Linked DNA regions of Homo sapiens: region 1 is linked to region 2. The links are contacts of gene promoters, found by promoter capture Hi-C in blood cells and fetal thymus (Javierre and others, 2016). All regions are on one chromosome and are shown on one strand. Each heading gives the region's core, a stretch centred on a gene start or on the middle of the fragment in contact. The rest is flanking DNA. Distances are from core to core; before and after follow the strand shown.

What was found. Contacts are between HindIII fragments. The CHiCAGO score rates a contact against its expected background, and 5 or more counts as called.
Region 1: a contact is called between a fragment that was not itself captured here and the fragment with the promoter of ALDH1A2 in region 2, in 1 of 17 cell types (endothelial precursors). The highest score is 5.1, in endothelial precursors.

Annotation. Positions count from the first base shown.
Region 1 is chr15:57,970,854-57,977,225 of GRCh38, reverse strand. All of the region lies in intron 7 of ALDH1A2 (aldehyde dehydrogenase 1 family member A2), which reads left to right. Among named protein-coding and RNA genes, the nearest start is that of ALDH1A2-AS1, 91 kb to the left of the region's middle. The HindIII fragment of the contact is 1,875 bases long and covers 1,965-3,839 here.
Region 2 is chr15:58,061,862-58,068,475 of GRCh38, reverse strand. ALDH1A2 (aldehyde dehydrogenase 1 family member A2) reads left to right here and starts at 2,765. Exons shown (of 13, transcript NM_003888.4): 1 at 2,765-2,942. The coding sequence starts at 2,826. It overlaps ALDH1A2-AS1 (ALDH1A2 antisense RNA 1), which reads right to left and starts at 3,251. Exons shown (of 3, transcript NR_147215.1): 1 at 2,734-3,251; 2 at 1,542-1,661. RefSeq lists a silencer at 1,910-2,099 and enhancers at 2,708-3,227, 3,228-3,747. The HindIII fragment of the contact is 8,256 bases long and covers 1,539-6,614 here.

The DNA of each region.
Region 1 (6,372 bases), core at 1,653-4,152, 91 kb after region 2:
AAACTATCATCAGAGTGAACAGGCAACCTACAGAGTGGGACAAAGTTTTTGCAATCTACTCATCTGACAAAGGGCTAATATCCAGACTCTACAAGGAACTTAAACAAGTTTACAAGAAAAAAAAAAAAACATCGAAAAGTGGGCAAAGGATATGAACACACACTTCGCAAAAGAAGACGTGGCCGTTAAACATGAAAAAAAGCTCATCATTACTGGTCACTAGAGAAATGCAAATCAAAACCACAGTGAGATACCATCTCACACCAGTTAGAATGGCGATCATTAAAAAGTCAGGAAACAACAGATGCTGGAGAGGATTTGGAGAAATAGGAATGCTTTTACACTGTTGATGGGAGTATAAATTAGTTCAACCATTGTGGAAGATGGTGGCAATTCCTCAAGGATCTAGAACTAGAAATACCATTTGACCCAACAATCGCATTACTGGGTATATACCCAAAGGATTATAAGTCATTCTTCCATAAAGACACATGCACTTGTATGTTTATTGCAGCACTATTCACAATAGCAAGGACTTGGAACCAACCCAGATGCCCATCGATGATAGACTGGATAAAGAAAATGTGGCACATATACACCATGGAATACCATGCAGCCATAAAAAAGGATGAGTTCATGTCCTTTACAGGGACCTGGATGAAGCTGGAAACCATCATTCTCAGCAAACTAACACAAACAGAAAACCAAACACCATATGTTCTCATTCATAAGTGAGAGTTGAACAATGAGGATGCATGGACACAGGGAGGGGAACATCACACACCGGGGCCTGTCGGGCTAGGGGAGGGATAACATTAGGAGAAATAGCTAATGTAGATGATGGGTTGATGGGTGCAGCAAACCACCATGGCACATGTAAAAAACCTCCACTTTCTGCACATGTATCCCAGAATTCAAAGTATAATTTTAAAAAATACAGTGCTGGAAGAAGATGCCTGGTACCTATTAAGGAACTCACTCATGATTTCTTGCTGTGGCCTAGAGTGGTGGCCACTCCTTCAAACTGAGTTTGCCAGAATGGAATTCTGGTGTAGGGAGAAATTTCTTTGCAGAAAAATGTTACGTAGTTTCCTTTGTTTTTCAGTAGTTGTGCAAAGACCAACTACTGCCAGTAGTCTGCAAAGGACAACAAAGAGATATATGGCATAATTTCTGTAATGAAGTAATATTTTTGTTTAATGTACCTTTATTAACAGCTTTATTGTAGTATAATTGATATACAATAGATTTCACTTATTTAAAGTGTACAATTTGATAAGTCTTGGCCATGTGTATCCATCTACCTGTGAAACCATCAGTAGAGTTCACAATGAATATGTCCCTCACCCTCACATGTTTCCTAGTGCCCCTTTGTAATCTCTCTGTCTTATCTCTCTCTCCACCCCCACCCCCACATTCCCAGGCTTTCTGGCACTATAGATTATCTGCATTTTCTAGAATTTTATATAAATGGCAACATATAGTATATACTCTTTTGTCTAGCTGTTTTTACTCAGCACAGTTATTTTGAGATCTGTCTATGTCGTGCATATCAATTCGTTCTTTTTTATTGCCAAGTAGTAGTCCATTTATGGGTATATAGTTTAACTATTCTGAATTCAAAAAATCTGAAATCTGGAATGCCCCCAAAACTTGAAACATTTTGAGCACCAACATCATGCTCAAAGGAAAGGCTCATTGGAGCATTTTGGATTTTGGATTTCCAGATCGGGGTGCTCAACTGGTAAGTATAATGCAAATATTCCAAAATCTGAAAAAATATCCCAAATCCAAAACACTTCTGGTTCTACACATTTTGATAAGGGATGTTCAACCTGTATCAGGTTTAATAGCCATTCAGCCAATGATGAACATTTGGATTTATCCATTTGTTGTATGTTTGTTTATCCATTCAGCCACTGATGAACATTTGGATTGTTTTCAGTTTGGGACTAATAAAAGCTTCTATGAACATTCATGTACAAATATTTGTATGGACATGTATGTCCTTTTCTCTTAGGTAAATACCTAGGAATGGAATGGCTGGATTGTGTGGTAGGGCAGGAAACTGCCAAACTGTTTTCCAAATCGGTTATACCATCTTACATTCCTACCAGCAATGTTTAAGACTTTGAACTCCTTTACATCCCCACCAACATTTGATGTGGTTAGTCTTTTACATTTTAGCCATTCAAATAGGTATATAGCATTGTCTCAATGTGGTTTTAATTTCCAATTCTCTACCATTGAGTGTCTTTTCATTTGTGTATTTGCCACAGCATATCTTCTCTGGTGAAGTATCTTTAAATCTTTGCACACTTTGGAGACAAGCGTTGTTTGTTTTCCTCATTGTTGAATTATGAAAATTGTTAGTATATTCTGGATAAAAGTCCTTTGTGCTTTGCAAATAATTTCTCCCAGTGTCTCTTAAAGTTTTTAATTTTGATGTCCAGTTTATTAACATTTTCTTTTATAGATCAGGCTTTTGGTATGGTATCTAAGAAATCTTTGCCTAACATAAGATCACAAAGACTTTCTCATATGCTTTTTTTCTAGAAATTTTATAGTTTTGTGTTTTACATTTAGGCCTATGATCTACTTCAACTTTTGTGTATGTTGAGAGGTAAGGATCCAAGTGCTAGATAGATGGATAATGACAATAGTTCCTGCACCATTTCTTGAAAAGACTACCCTGCCTCCACTGAATTGCCTTTGTGATGCTTGCTTTTTTCAAGCATAAATTTTCCATATTTATATGGGTCTATTTCTTTCTTTTTTTTTTTTTTTTTTTTTGAGATGGAGTCTCGCTCTGTCACCCAGGCTGGAGTGCAGTGGCGCGATCTTGGCTCACTGCAAGCTCTGCCTCCCGGGTTTATGCCATTCTCCTGCCTCAGCCTCCCAAGTAGCTGGAACTACAGGCGCCCGCCACCTTGCCCAGCTAATGTTTTGTATTTTTAGTAGAGATGGGGTTTCACCATGTTAGCCAGGATGGTCTTGATCTCCTGACCACGTGATCCACCAGCCTTGGCCTCCCAAAGTTACAGGCATGAGCCACTGCGCCCGGCCCTATATGGGTCTATTTCTGTACTCTCTGTTCTGTTTCAGTAATCTGTGTGACTGTTGCATCGCAAGTATCACATTATTTTGACTATTATAGCTTTATAACAACAGGAATTTTTTTATCTTCACAAATAAAACATTAACAACTACCTATGCAATCTTCCAATACTGAGATATTCAATAGGGAACTGAGAGAGAGAGAGAGAAGGGAGAATTTGGGAAAGAGAATAGGGTGGAAGGTGGGTCTTTGAATTGTTTTGCTTTTAGGAATAGTTAAAATATTAAGTAGCCTATTACAGTGTGAATAGAGCAAGTTTTCAGCTAAACTTTCTAACAGAATCTACATTTGATTCTTCTCTCTCTGTAGAGAGGCTTACATTCATTTGGAGGGGAACTAATCCCGTGACTTCTAGGTTATCTCTTAGTTTCTTCTCTGGAATGACATTATTGGCAGACACTAAAGGACTTAAGGGAGAGCGGCATTTGTCTAGAATATAAAAGCCAATTTGTAATTTCCATATTAGTAGTGGTGGATGGAGAATTTTCACAGGCAAATCAAACGATCACATAATCCCCAAACCCCTTTTCAGCTGTAGTTATTTACTTCTTTATCCATTTATTCTAACTTTGCAGGCTACCTGAGAAGTTGTATAGATTCTTCCAGAGTGAACATGTCACTTAAATATGGATTAGAACATGGCTTCTGCTGTGATTACCTTAGGGAGATGGGACCTATTGGTACATTACAAAGTGTCTGGAACAGTTAACAAGAAGAAGCTTATTTGAGGTGGCTGCTTTCCATTTTACTAAAGCAAAAGGCCTTTAGAAAGCCAACAACTTTACTCAGATTAAAGATGGGATTAATTTCTCCTTATGCAGCTAAATACATAAGCAGTGCATGTAAATATTTAATAAATATAAAAGAGCTCTTATAAACACAAGTCAATAAACAACTTCAATAAAGTACAGGAAAACAATATGCATTTTGCTTGGTATAGTGTTTTCTTTACTCAGGTTAACAAACAATGATCTCATCATTAGCAGCAAGATAGTGGAGAGACCATCAAAGCAAACTACAGCAGAGTCCAGATTGATTCGTGCCAAACAAATGTTTGTAGCTAACAGCTGTATTATCACTCATTCTAATTTACGCAGCTGGGGTTCTTTTATTTCCTAAGTGAGATAAATGTCATGTTGCATGATACAAGCACCATCTCTACTGCTTGAGTCATGAATCAGGTCAGCTCTCTCCTAGTTAGCTTCACCCCTCATTTTAGGTTAGGGGAGGTGGCTTGCTACAGTTTTAGCTATAAACAGCTAATAGGCCTTTTTCTAAGGTTGTGTGAGTCCATTCGTGAATCATTCAGTATTTTATTTAAAAATACCAGTTTGAATGTCATGAAAATATTGAAAAAACCAGTTTCATGTGGAAAAACCTTTGGTTGTGTAGGTTTTAAACTATTAGCATAAAACTTCTCTTTTTAAAAAATTCTTAAAACTTGAAGACTGAAGAATAAGTATGGTATAGTCTCTGCCTGCTGGATGAGATTCCATGATTTATTCTCTAACTATGCTAAGTCAAAGATTCTGCAGTTAGCTTTCTCCCCAAAACTCAGGCTGAGTTTGAGCAGGTCCTAAGGTGTTGATCCCTTTAGCTCACCTAGTTAATGGGACATAGAGTACTTTTGGCTTGACTACTCCATGCTTTTTCCTATCAAAGCAGACCAAGACAATCAAAACCTTGATTTTTAAAGCTTACCTGAAATAGAGTCTTATGTAACAAAAGGATGGCTAAGTGTACAAGGCAGTTGAACATGTTAGTGGTAGATGATGCATTTAACTGTCAAAATGCTACTCACAGCAAAGGGGAACCAATTCCCAGGAGAAGGTCTGGAGAAGAGGAGGGAGAAGAGCCTGAGGCTTGGTGTGCACATTCTGAGACCAGTCCTGGCTCTGCCACTCAGTGGGTGCCTGTTTGCAAGTCATTTCTTGACCTCTGTGAGTCTTGTCTTGTCTTTTTTTCCAATTATAAAATAGAATAATAATTCCTGCCTCCCAGTTTTGTCATGAAGATTAAATAAAATAATGTTTGTGAAAACAAGTAGACAGAATAGGTGCTCAATCAACAATAACATTAGCTGGACACGATGGCTCACGCCCATAATTCTAGCACTTTGGGAGATCAAGACCAGAAGATCGTGTGAGCCCAGGAGTTCAAAACCAGCCTGGGCAAGATGGCAAGCCCCAGTCTTTGCAAAAAAAAATAAAAAATAAATTAGCCAGGCTTGGTAGTGTGCACCTGTAGCCCCAGTTATTCAAGGGGCTGAATGGCGGGATTGCTTGGGCCAAGGAGTTGAAGGATGCAGTGAGCCGTGATCACACCACTGCTCTCAAGCAATTTTCGTATTCTGGCTTATTGACTTAACAAATTATTGAAAGTTTGTCTGGGCCCTGGTGGCTCAGGCCTGTCATCCCAGTGCTTTCAAGGCCTAGGCAGGAGGACCCCTTGAGGCCAAGAGTTTGAGACCACCTGGTCAACATAGTGAGACCCTGTCTGTACCAATTTTTTTTTTTAATTAGCCAGGCATGATGGCAAGTGCCTGTAGTCCCAGCTACTCAGGCTGAGTTGGGAGGATTGCTTGAACTCAGAATTTCAAGGATGCAGTGAGCCATAATCATACTACTACAGTTCAACCTTGGCAAGAGAGTGAGACCCTGTCTTAAAATCTGTGTACATATGCATATTTTTTTAAAAGTCAGTCATTGTAGTCGGGGAGACAGCTATTAAACAAGCACAATGTGAGAGTTACGTACATAGCACTGTGAGATCAGAGAAGGAACACCAAACCCTGTAGGGAGGGTAGGGAAGGAAAGCTACCTTCTCAGAGGAGGTGAAAGAGTTATCTCTGTAAAAATGAGTTTATCAAGTAAGCAAGGGGTGAAAAGGCACTGCAGGTAGATGGAGCAGCTTATGCAAAGACACACAGGCATGTTCCAGAAAGGGCAAGTGGTTTTGTGTGCCTAGAGTCGTGGGTGAGTGGTGGTGGGAATGGTGGGACAGAAGGCTGGAAACATAGTGGTTATACTGGCCTTCATAATCTGAATTTCACAGATAAAGGTTTAAACTGCTGTTACCACTTAAAGGAACTGCTTAGATGCCTTGGTCCTGTTTGTTTCTGGTGCAAATCTGGACAGATTAATTTGGCCTGTTATTTCTGGGTACTTCAGAAAGACAAACACCCAATCCCCATATTTTTGGCATTTCTATTCCCAACACAGTTGGAACCAGGAAGCATAACAATGAAAATTAAG
Region 2 (6,614 bases), core at 1,516-4,015:
CCTGTCTCTATCCAAAACACAAAAAATTAGCTGGGTGTGGTGGCAGATGCCTGTAATCCCAGCTACTCGGGAGGCTGAGGCAGGAGAATCGCTGGAACCTGGGAGGCGGAGGTTGCAGTGAGCCGAGATCACACCATTGCACTCCAGCCTGGATGACAGTGCGAGACTCTGTCTCAAAAAAAAAACACAAAAAAACAAAAAAACACCGATGGGGAAAAGCAAAACGAAGTTTAAGATCAAGAGGAGAAAATGTTCTTTAATCAGGCAGTGAAGGAAGTTACTTTCACTTACGGTGGAAGTTGTCAAAAGTGCTCTGTCTTTTGCTCAAATCAACCAACAAAAATTCTTATTAAATAGTTATTATGTGTTCTACGCTGTTTTAGGAACTGAGGAAGGCACAAGGGAGACAGGCTGGAGTGCAAGATCTCCTCTCACTACAACCTCCACCTCCTGGGTTCAAGCGATTCTCCTGCCTTAGCCTCCCGAGTAGTTAGAATTACACGCACCTGCCACCAGGCCCAGCTAATTTTTGTATTTTTAGTAGAGATGGGGTTTCACCATGTTGGTTAGGCTGGTCTTGAACTCCTGACCTCAAGTGATCCACCCGCCTCGGCCTCCCAAACTGCTGGGATTACAGGCATGAGCCACCGTGCCCAGCCTCTATACCTTTTCTATAGTGTTCTTTTTGCTCTTGTTGAAGCCTCCCTTCTCCCTTAAGACCCAGCCAAAGGTCAGCTTTCCCAGGGAGTAGGCGTCCTCCTTGGAGCACTCAGCTCATGTTGTTATGGCTCTTTTTCATGTTTTCCCCACAGCCTCTCATAACTAGTGATAAGTTTTTCCACAGGTATCACTGTTCCCCCTTGCTGGAACCCTCTCTTTCTCCCCAATGAACTCTAAGATTTTACTTTTTTATTTCTCAATTGTATCTCTAACCTTCTAAGGCTTTGATAAAAGTATATCTTATGAGCATACACTGTTATTAAGTCATAATTTTTGGCCATAGAAATTCCCTGAGTACAGATCCCTCGACTGCCCAAGCTAAGGTCTGTAGTTTCTCCATGAAAACGATTCACCCAGGTCACTTTGGGTTCTGAGAGGCTGGAACTTATTTCTATAAACCTAATACTAAAATGAAATATTTTTGTCTGTTTTCACTATTGCTTAGCATCTGAGCGCTGAGCATTAGGCAGTTTTAGTTACTCAAAGTATCTAAGGAAAGATGTTTTCTGGCTGATGCTTAATGTTTTCTTAACGCCCAAGAAATGGGACTCCAGCGGCTCTAAAAATGGCATTTAAGATGAGAATCAGGCCGGGTGCAGTGGCTCATGCCTATAATCCTAGCACTTTGGGAGGCTGAGGTGGTAGGGTCACTTGAGCCCAGTTCAAGATCACAGTGAGCTGTCACGGTGCCACTGCATTCCAGCCTGAGTGAAGGAGTGAGACCCTGTCTCTTCAAACAAAACAAAAAGACGAGAATCACAGTGTTGCTTGGTAGTGTAGAAAAAGCGTTTATCAACACTGTAGGCCCCTGTCAAGCTTACATTTGGAGTGAGGAGTAAGGAAGGGAAGGGACTTATGCAGGTCTTTCCATGCGGCCTTGATTTAGTCCACGGAGTCCAAAGCCCATTCTGAGGCAGGGTCTCTAGGTTCTTGGTTTACACCTGCAGGCCGATCCACAGACTAGAGGGCAGCTTGTTAGACTTTGGAAACACTTAGATTAGGGGGGAGATGGAAACTCAATCCCAAAGGGACAGTAAAATGAGCCTAAGGTCTGGCGGGACGATAGCTCTTAGCGTGTAAGGAACAACAGAAAAACAAAATAGTGTTTCTGTGGGTGTGCTGGGTGAGGAGGGGAAACAGCCGGAAGAGGGGATCCGAGAAGAACTAAAGGAGCCCACGAAGCATGCAGCTCCTCGGAGGAGCCGGGGATGATCACTGCCCATATCCTCCCGCCACAGCGCAAGCCGCCCGGGCGGTCCCGGCCGGCAGAGGGCAGCAACTGGGCGGGCGACGCCTGGCAAGGGCCGCCCCGCGCTGACCCGCTCGCAGGGATCCTCATTCTGAGCCCGAGGCGAGGGGGACTCGCACCCACTGCCACCTCTCCCTGACCCTCTGGCCACCATGCACCTCGGCCCGGCTGAGGGGAGTCGGGGGGTCGGGGGAGAGGGCGTAGCTGCCGAGAGCCTGGCGCCCCTGCCCGGAGGAGGAGAACGGAGGACGCCCTCCCGGGTCTCCGGAAAGGAAGGGGGACGGGGTTCGGTGGGTCCTGGGACGGGGATGGGAGGGAACGTGGGCGAGCTGGGAGCCGCCCTCCGCAGCCTGGACTTTCCTGGCCTTTCTCTACTCCGAAGCAGCACCGGGCCGCTCCGGTCCCCGCCAGCCCCTGCCAGCTCCGCTTCCGGGGGCCACGACCCTCGCTCGACTTCGGCCGCTGTGCGCCTCCCGCCGACTCTGACCCAGGGACCCGGAGACCAAGTCCGGCTGGCCGAGGCCCGCGGGCCGCGGCGCAAGTTCCGCTCCCACCGTCGAGGACTGTGGAGGCGGCGTGGGCTGGTCTCCGCGGCCGGGGGGCGGGAGCGCCGGGCGGACTTGACCGTGGGCGCCAAGCGTCCCGGCCGCGCGGCGCGGGCTTTATGTAAATGGAGGCTGCGCCGGGCGTCCTAGGTAGGATGGACCAGCCCCCCGCGCCTCGGCCCTCACGTCCAATAAGAAGAGCCCCAGCTTGACACCTGCCTATATACAGGCGAGCGCGCCCCCGGGCCGCGGACCGCGCGCACAGCCCGCACTGCCCCACGCCGCGGGCTAGGGACACCCGGCCCGCCACCATGACTTCCAGCAAGATAGAGATGCCCGGCGAGGTGAAGGCCGACCCCGCCGCCCTCATGGCGTCGCTGCACCTCCTGCCGTCGCCCACGCCCAATCTCGAAATTAAGTACACCAAGGTAAGCGGCCGCCCAGCGCCCGTCGTCCACGGAGACTTTCTAGAACCTTCTTCGGTTTCCCCGATCTCTTCAGCGGGTGAGGGCTGCGGGACGGGGCCGGGGTCGTCGGGGCCAGCCTGTCATCCCGGCGCAGCAGAGGGACCCCCTGCCTGTCTTCGGGACTGGGGCGTTTGAAGCCCCGCCGTGGTCTGAGGACGCCTTGGGGACTTAACCCAACCCGAAGCGCAGCGTTGAGGGGCAGCCGTCAACGGCTCCTGCCCCGGACTCTGAGGCTGGTTTCTGTCCGATTCTCCCGGTCCCGACTGCCGCGGGGGAAGGCGTCGGAACCGCTTAGTATCCTCAGATGGAGGCCGGGGTTCCCCGTCAGCTTGGCCACGCAGCCTGGCCGTCGCCTCTCGGTCCTCCGCCTTCCGGGCCCCTCGGCTGTTGGTCCCAATCAGGTCCTCCACAGCCCGGAGGGTGCTGAGGGGCTTTCCCGTAAGGAATTGTCAAGACACCAGCGCTCTGGCCGGTTTGACAAATTTCACGGAAACCTGACTGATAAGTACAGTAACTCCAACGTCAGCGTTTCATGTGAATTTTGTAGGCAGCGGCAGTTTCCCTGGGAAACTTAAAAAGTTTTAATATTTGTTAGCATGTTCGGTTTTGAACTGAAGAACTTACTTTTTTTTTTTTATAACGAACGTTGACATCTTGGGTTTGCTAAGCAGGATTTTTGTTGTTGCATCGCCTAAAAAAGAATATGCGTCTGCTACCTAATATAAAATGAATTTACTTTCCACAAATTCGACATAGAAAAAAAATGATCGATTACAAACGTAGGGGTATTGTAATGTTACAACATTTTGAGGGAGGTGGTGAGAGAGAGATGGGATTGAAAACCACGTTTCTTGGAGTTCATTTTGTAGTTCTCTGGTTTGATTTTCTAGTCCTTTCGGTACATTTCTACACTCAACTTCTCCCAATTAACGCAAACGCATAGACGCACATGCATATGGTTAAAGGTTGATTAAAGATGTATTCCATCGTGCTTTTTTACAAGATAAATTTTGTAGAGAAGTAAATTGTTTGCATCTGGCTTAGTGGTTGAATGAGATATACAAGAAACAACATCAGAATATTGAGATTTTACTTGCATTGAGTTTTAGGTTACAAATCAGGGCGATTTGTGTTTTGAATGTCGATTTAGATGGATTTAATGTACCTGCTAGCTTTTTTAGATGGTGTGACAAATTTTTCAAAGCCGTTTTAATGAGAGGTCGTTAATGGTTATAACCTTTTAGGCATTGTTTGCATAACAATAGTGCCAATGTGTGGCACTTGTCTGGGTTTAGGAACGAGCAGGGAAAGCATGCAGCTTAGAAGTTTTATTTTATGAGGGTCTCTAACCTCTTCAGGCTCTTTTTAAAGGTCTTAAAATGGAAGATCTACACAGGAGAAAAGACCTAACCCTCAGATTTGGGAAGGTTTGATTTTAGTCTTATTTTTGATGGGATTTTTCTAACAGCCTCTGAAAGAAATTTTAGGTATGCAATAGGTACGTTTTTCAGAATTTAATTTGGAAGCTCTTCCAGTTCTCTTACTCCCTAACTACCCCCTCTCTCTTTTCTCTCTTGTTCTCCCCCAGTAGGAAAGACAACTGATTTATAGCTAATTGGAGCCTTTAATGTGGAGTCTTTTAGCTCGGGGAACTTTTATCCAGTATCCACTTTCCCACTTAATACAAAGAAAAACAATCAGAAATGAAATAATGGATTGTAACTTGATTCTTTAATTTGTGGGGAGGAGGTACCTTATTTTTGCCTTGACAAACAACCCTCATAAACACTGAGTAACACTAATCTAAAGGCGAGCTCTTTCCACAAAAACTTGTAAAATCAGGTATCTGTGAGCATTCCCAGCAGTTTTCCTCCTCAGCTCTTTAGTGAGACTTCTAAATTTTCTAAGACAAGCATAGTGGACAAGCAGTATTTTTTTTTTAAACGTGAAGAGCAGAAGCTGCTCTTTTGGTATCCCAGGGTAATGATTTTTTTACTTAAAGGAAAAATAAGATTAATAGTGAGTTTTTTAAAAACAAACATGACCAGAAGTGAGGGAAATTATATTAGCAATTTCAAACAGAAGAGTGAACAAGATAGAATGGACAGTCCTTTAGCATAGTGATACCATATTCGATAGGGGATTTTAAAAGGGTAATGGCTACAAAAGTATTACGCGTTAGGGCGTGTTAAATATCACATTTGAAAGAAACACAATATTTGCATCAGAAAATGATACTGTAAGACAATATGTTATTGTTTTTTGTCTTGCTAAACATACATCTTTAGTGAAGGATATGACTTTCTGTATGATTTTTCAGTGTGATATTGGGACCCACATAGAGTCACTACTTAAAATAAATGACCAGACTATGAGAATTTCAAGTAATGTGCACTTAGAAAACTTTGTACTTGTGATCTTGTATTTTTCTGTATTTTTGCTCCAACTTCCTCCTCCTCCTAGAAGTATTTCACATTTTTAATAAAGGGAATGGGGGAGATGACCAGAATTAAAAGTTACTGCCTTTGCCTGCTAGAGGTCCAGTGGAAATGCTCCAGAATTAAAGTTCATTCCCTAAGGATGTTGAAAGGGCTAAACTCATGGTTGTGTATGGACTTTTAGGCAGTTACATTCCATTTTTTAAAATACGCTTACCACTCTGAAATTCTAGTATCCATATTATACCAATGATCAATGGCAATACCATTTTTGGAACATGTCTATTTGTATTTCCCTAATACAGCAAGCTGGATCCCAAGTTTTAAAAGTGATCCCTTATGAAGGAATGTGCTTTTTAAAACTAGATGGTGTTAGTCAAGGAGGAGTGAAAACTAACATGAAGTATTGAGGGGACCAATTTGGTACCAAGAGAATGCGCTCTCCTTTGCTTGTATCCTAAGAAGACTGCATTCTGATTGCCTTGAGCGATGTGTTTATGAATTTAAAATTTTCTGAGTTGTCTATTTTATTAGTCTGACTTTTATAATTTTGTATAACTGATATTATAGGAATACACACATTACAAAGTCAAGGCTCAGCACTTTACTGACCGCCCCTGACTGCAGGGGATATCTCTTAACAGATTCCCAGGTCTTTGGAAACTTGTCCTCTGTATTCCACTTCGACCTTCTTTCTTGGCTCTATCTTCTCTTCTGGCTGTACCGGTCTCTCCTTTCCTTCCTCCCTCCCCCAGATCGTTGTGCTGTCTTTCTCTTGGTCACTTTTTCAGTGAGAGTTTATGCCCATAACTAACAGTAACAAAGAGTTATGTTTTTTTTTTCTGCATCTGATATTATATGGGGCTGAAACACAGGGAGGAAGAGGGTATTTATAACATAATGACCTGCTAAAATAGAAGAGGCAAAAAGGCAATCAACTTAAAACTCAGAGCTAATGTGCATCGTGAGTCTAGATTTGTCTTTTTATTTATTCATTTAAACTTCTGTTTTCTGGGGTCTATTTCAATTAAATTCAAAAGGCATTTGAGTGGCCATGTTCCTAACAGGGGTGCTTTTCACTGTGTTAGACTGGAAACATCTGCCTTCTGGGAGATTAGGGTCTTATTAAAAAGTTTGTGTGCCAAAAATTGGTTGTTAGTACAGCAGTAGTTCAGTTGATCAATGTAATAATAAT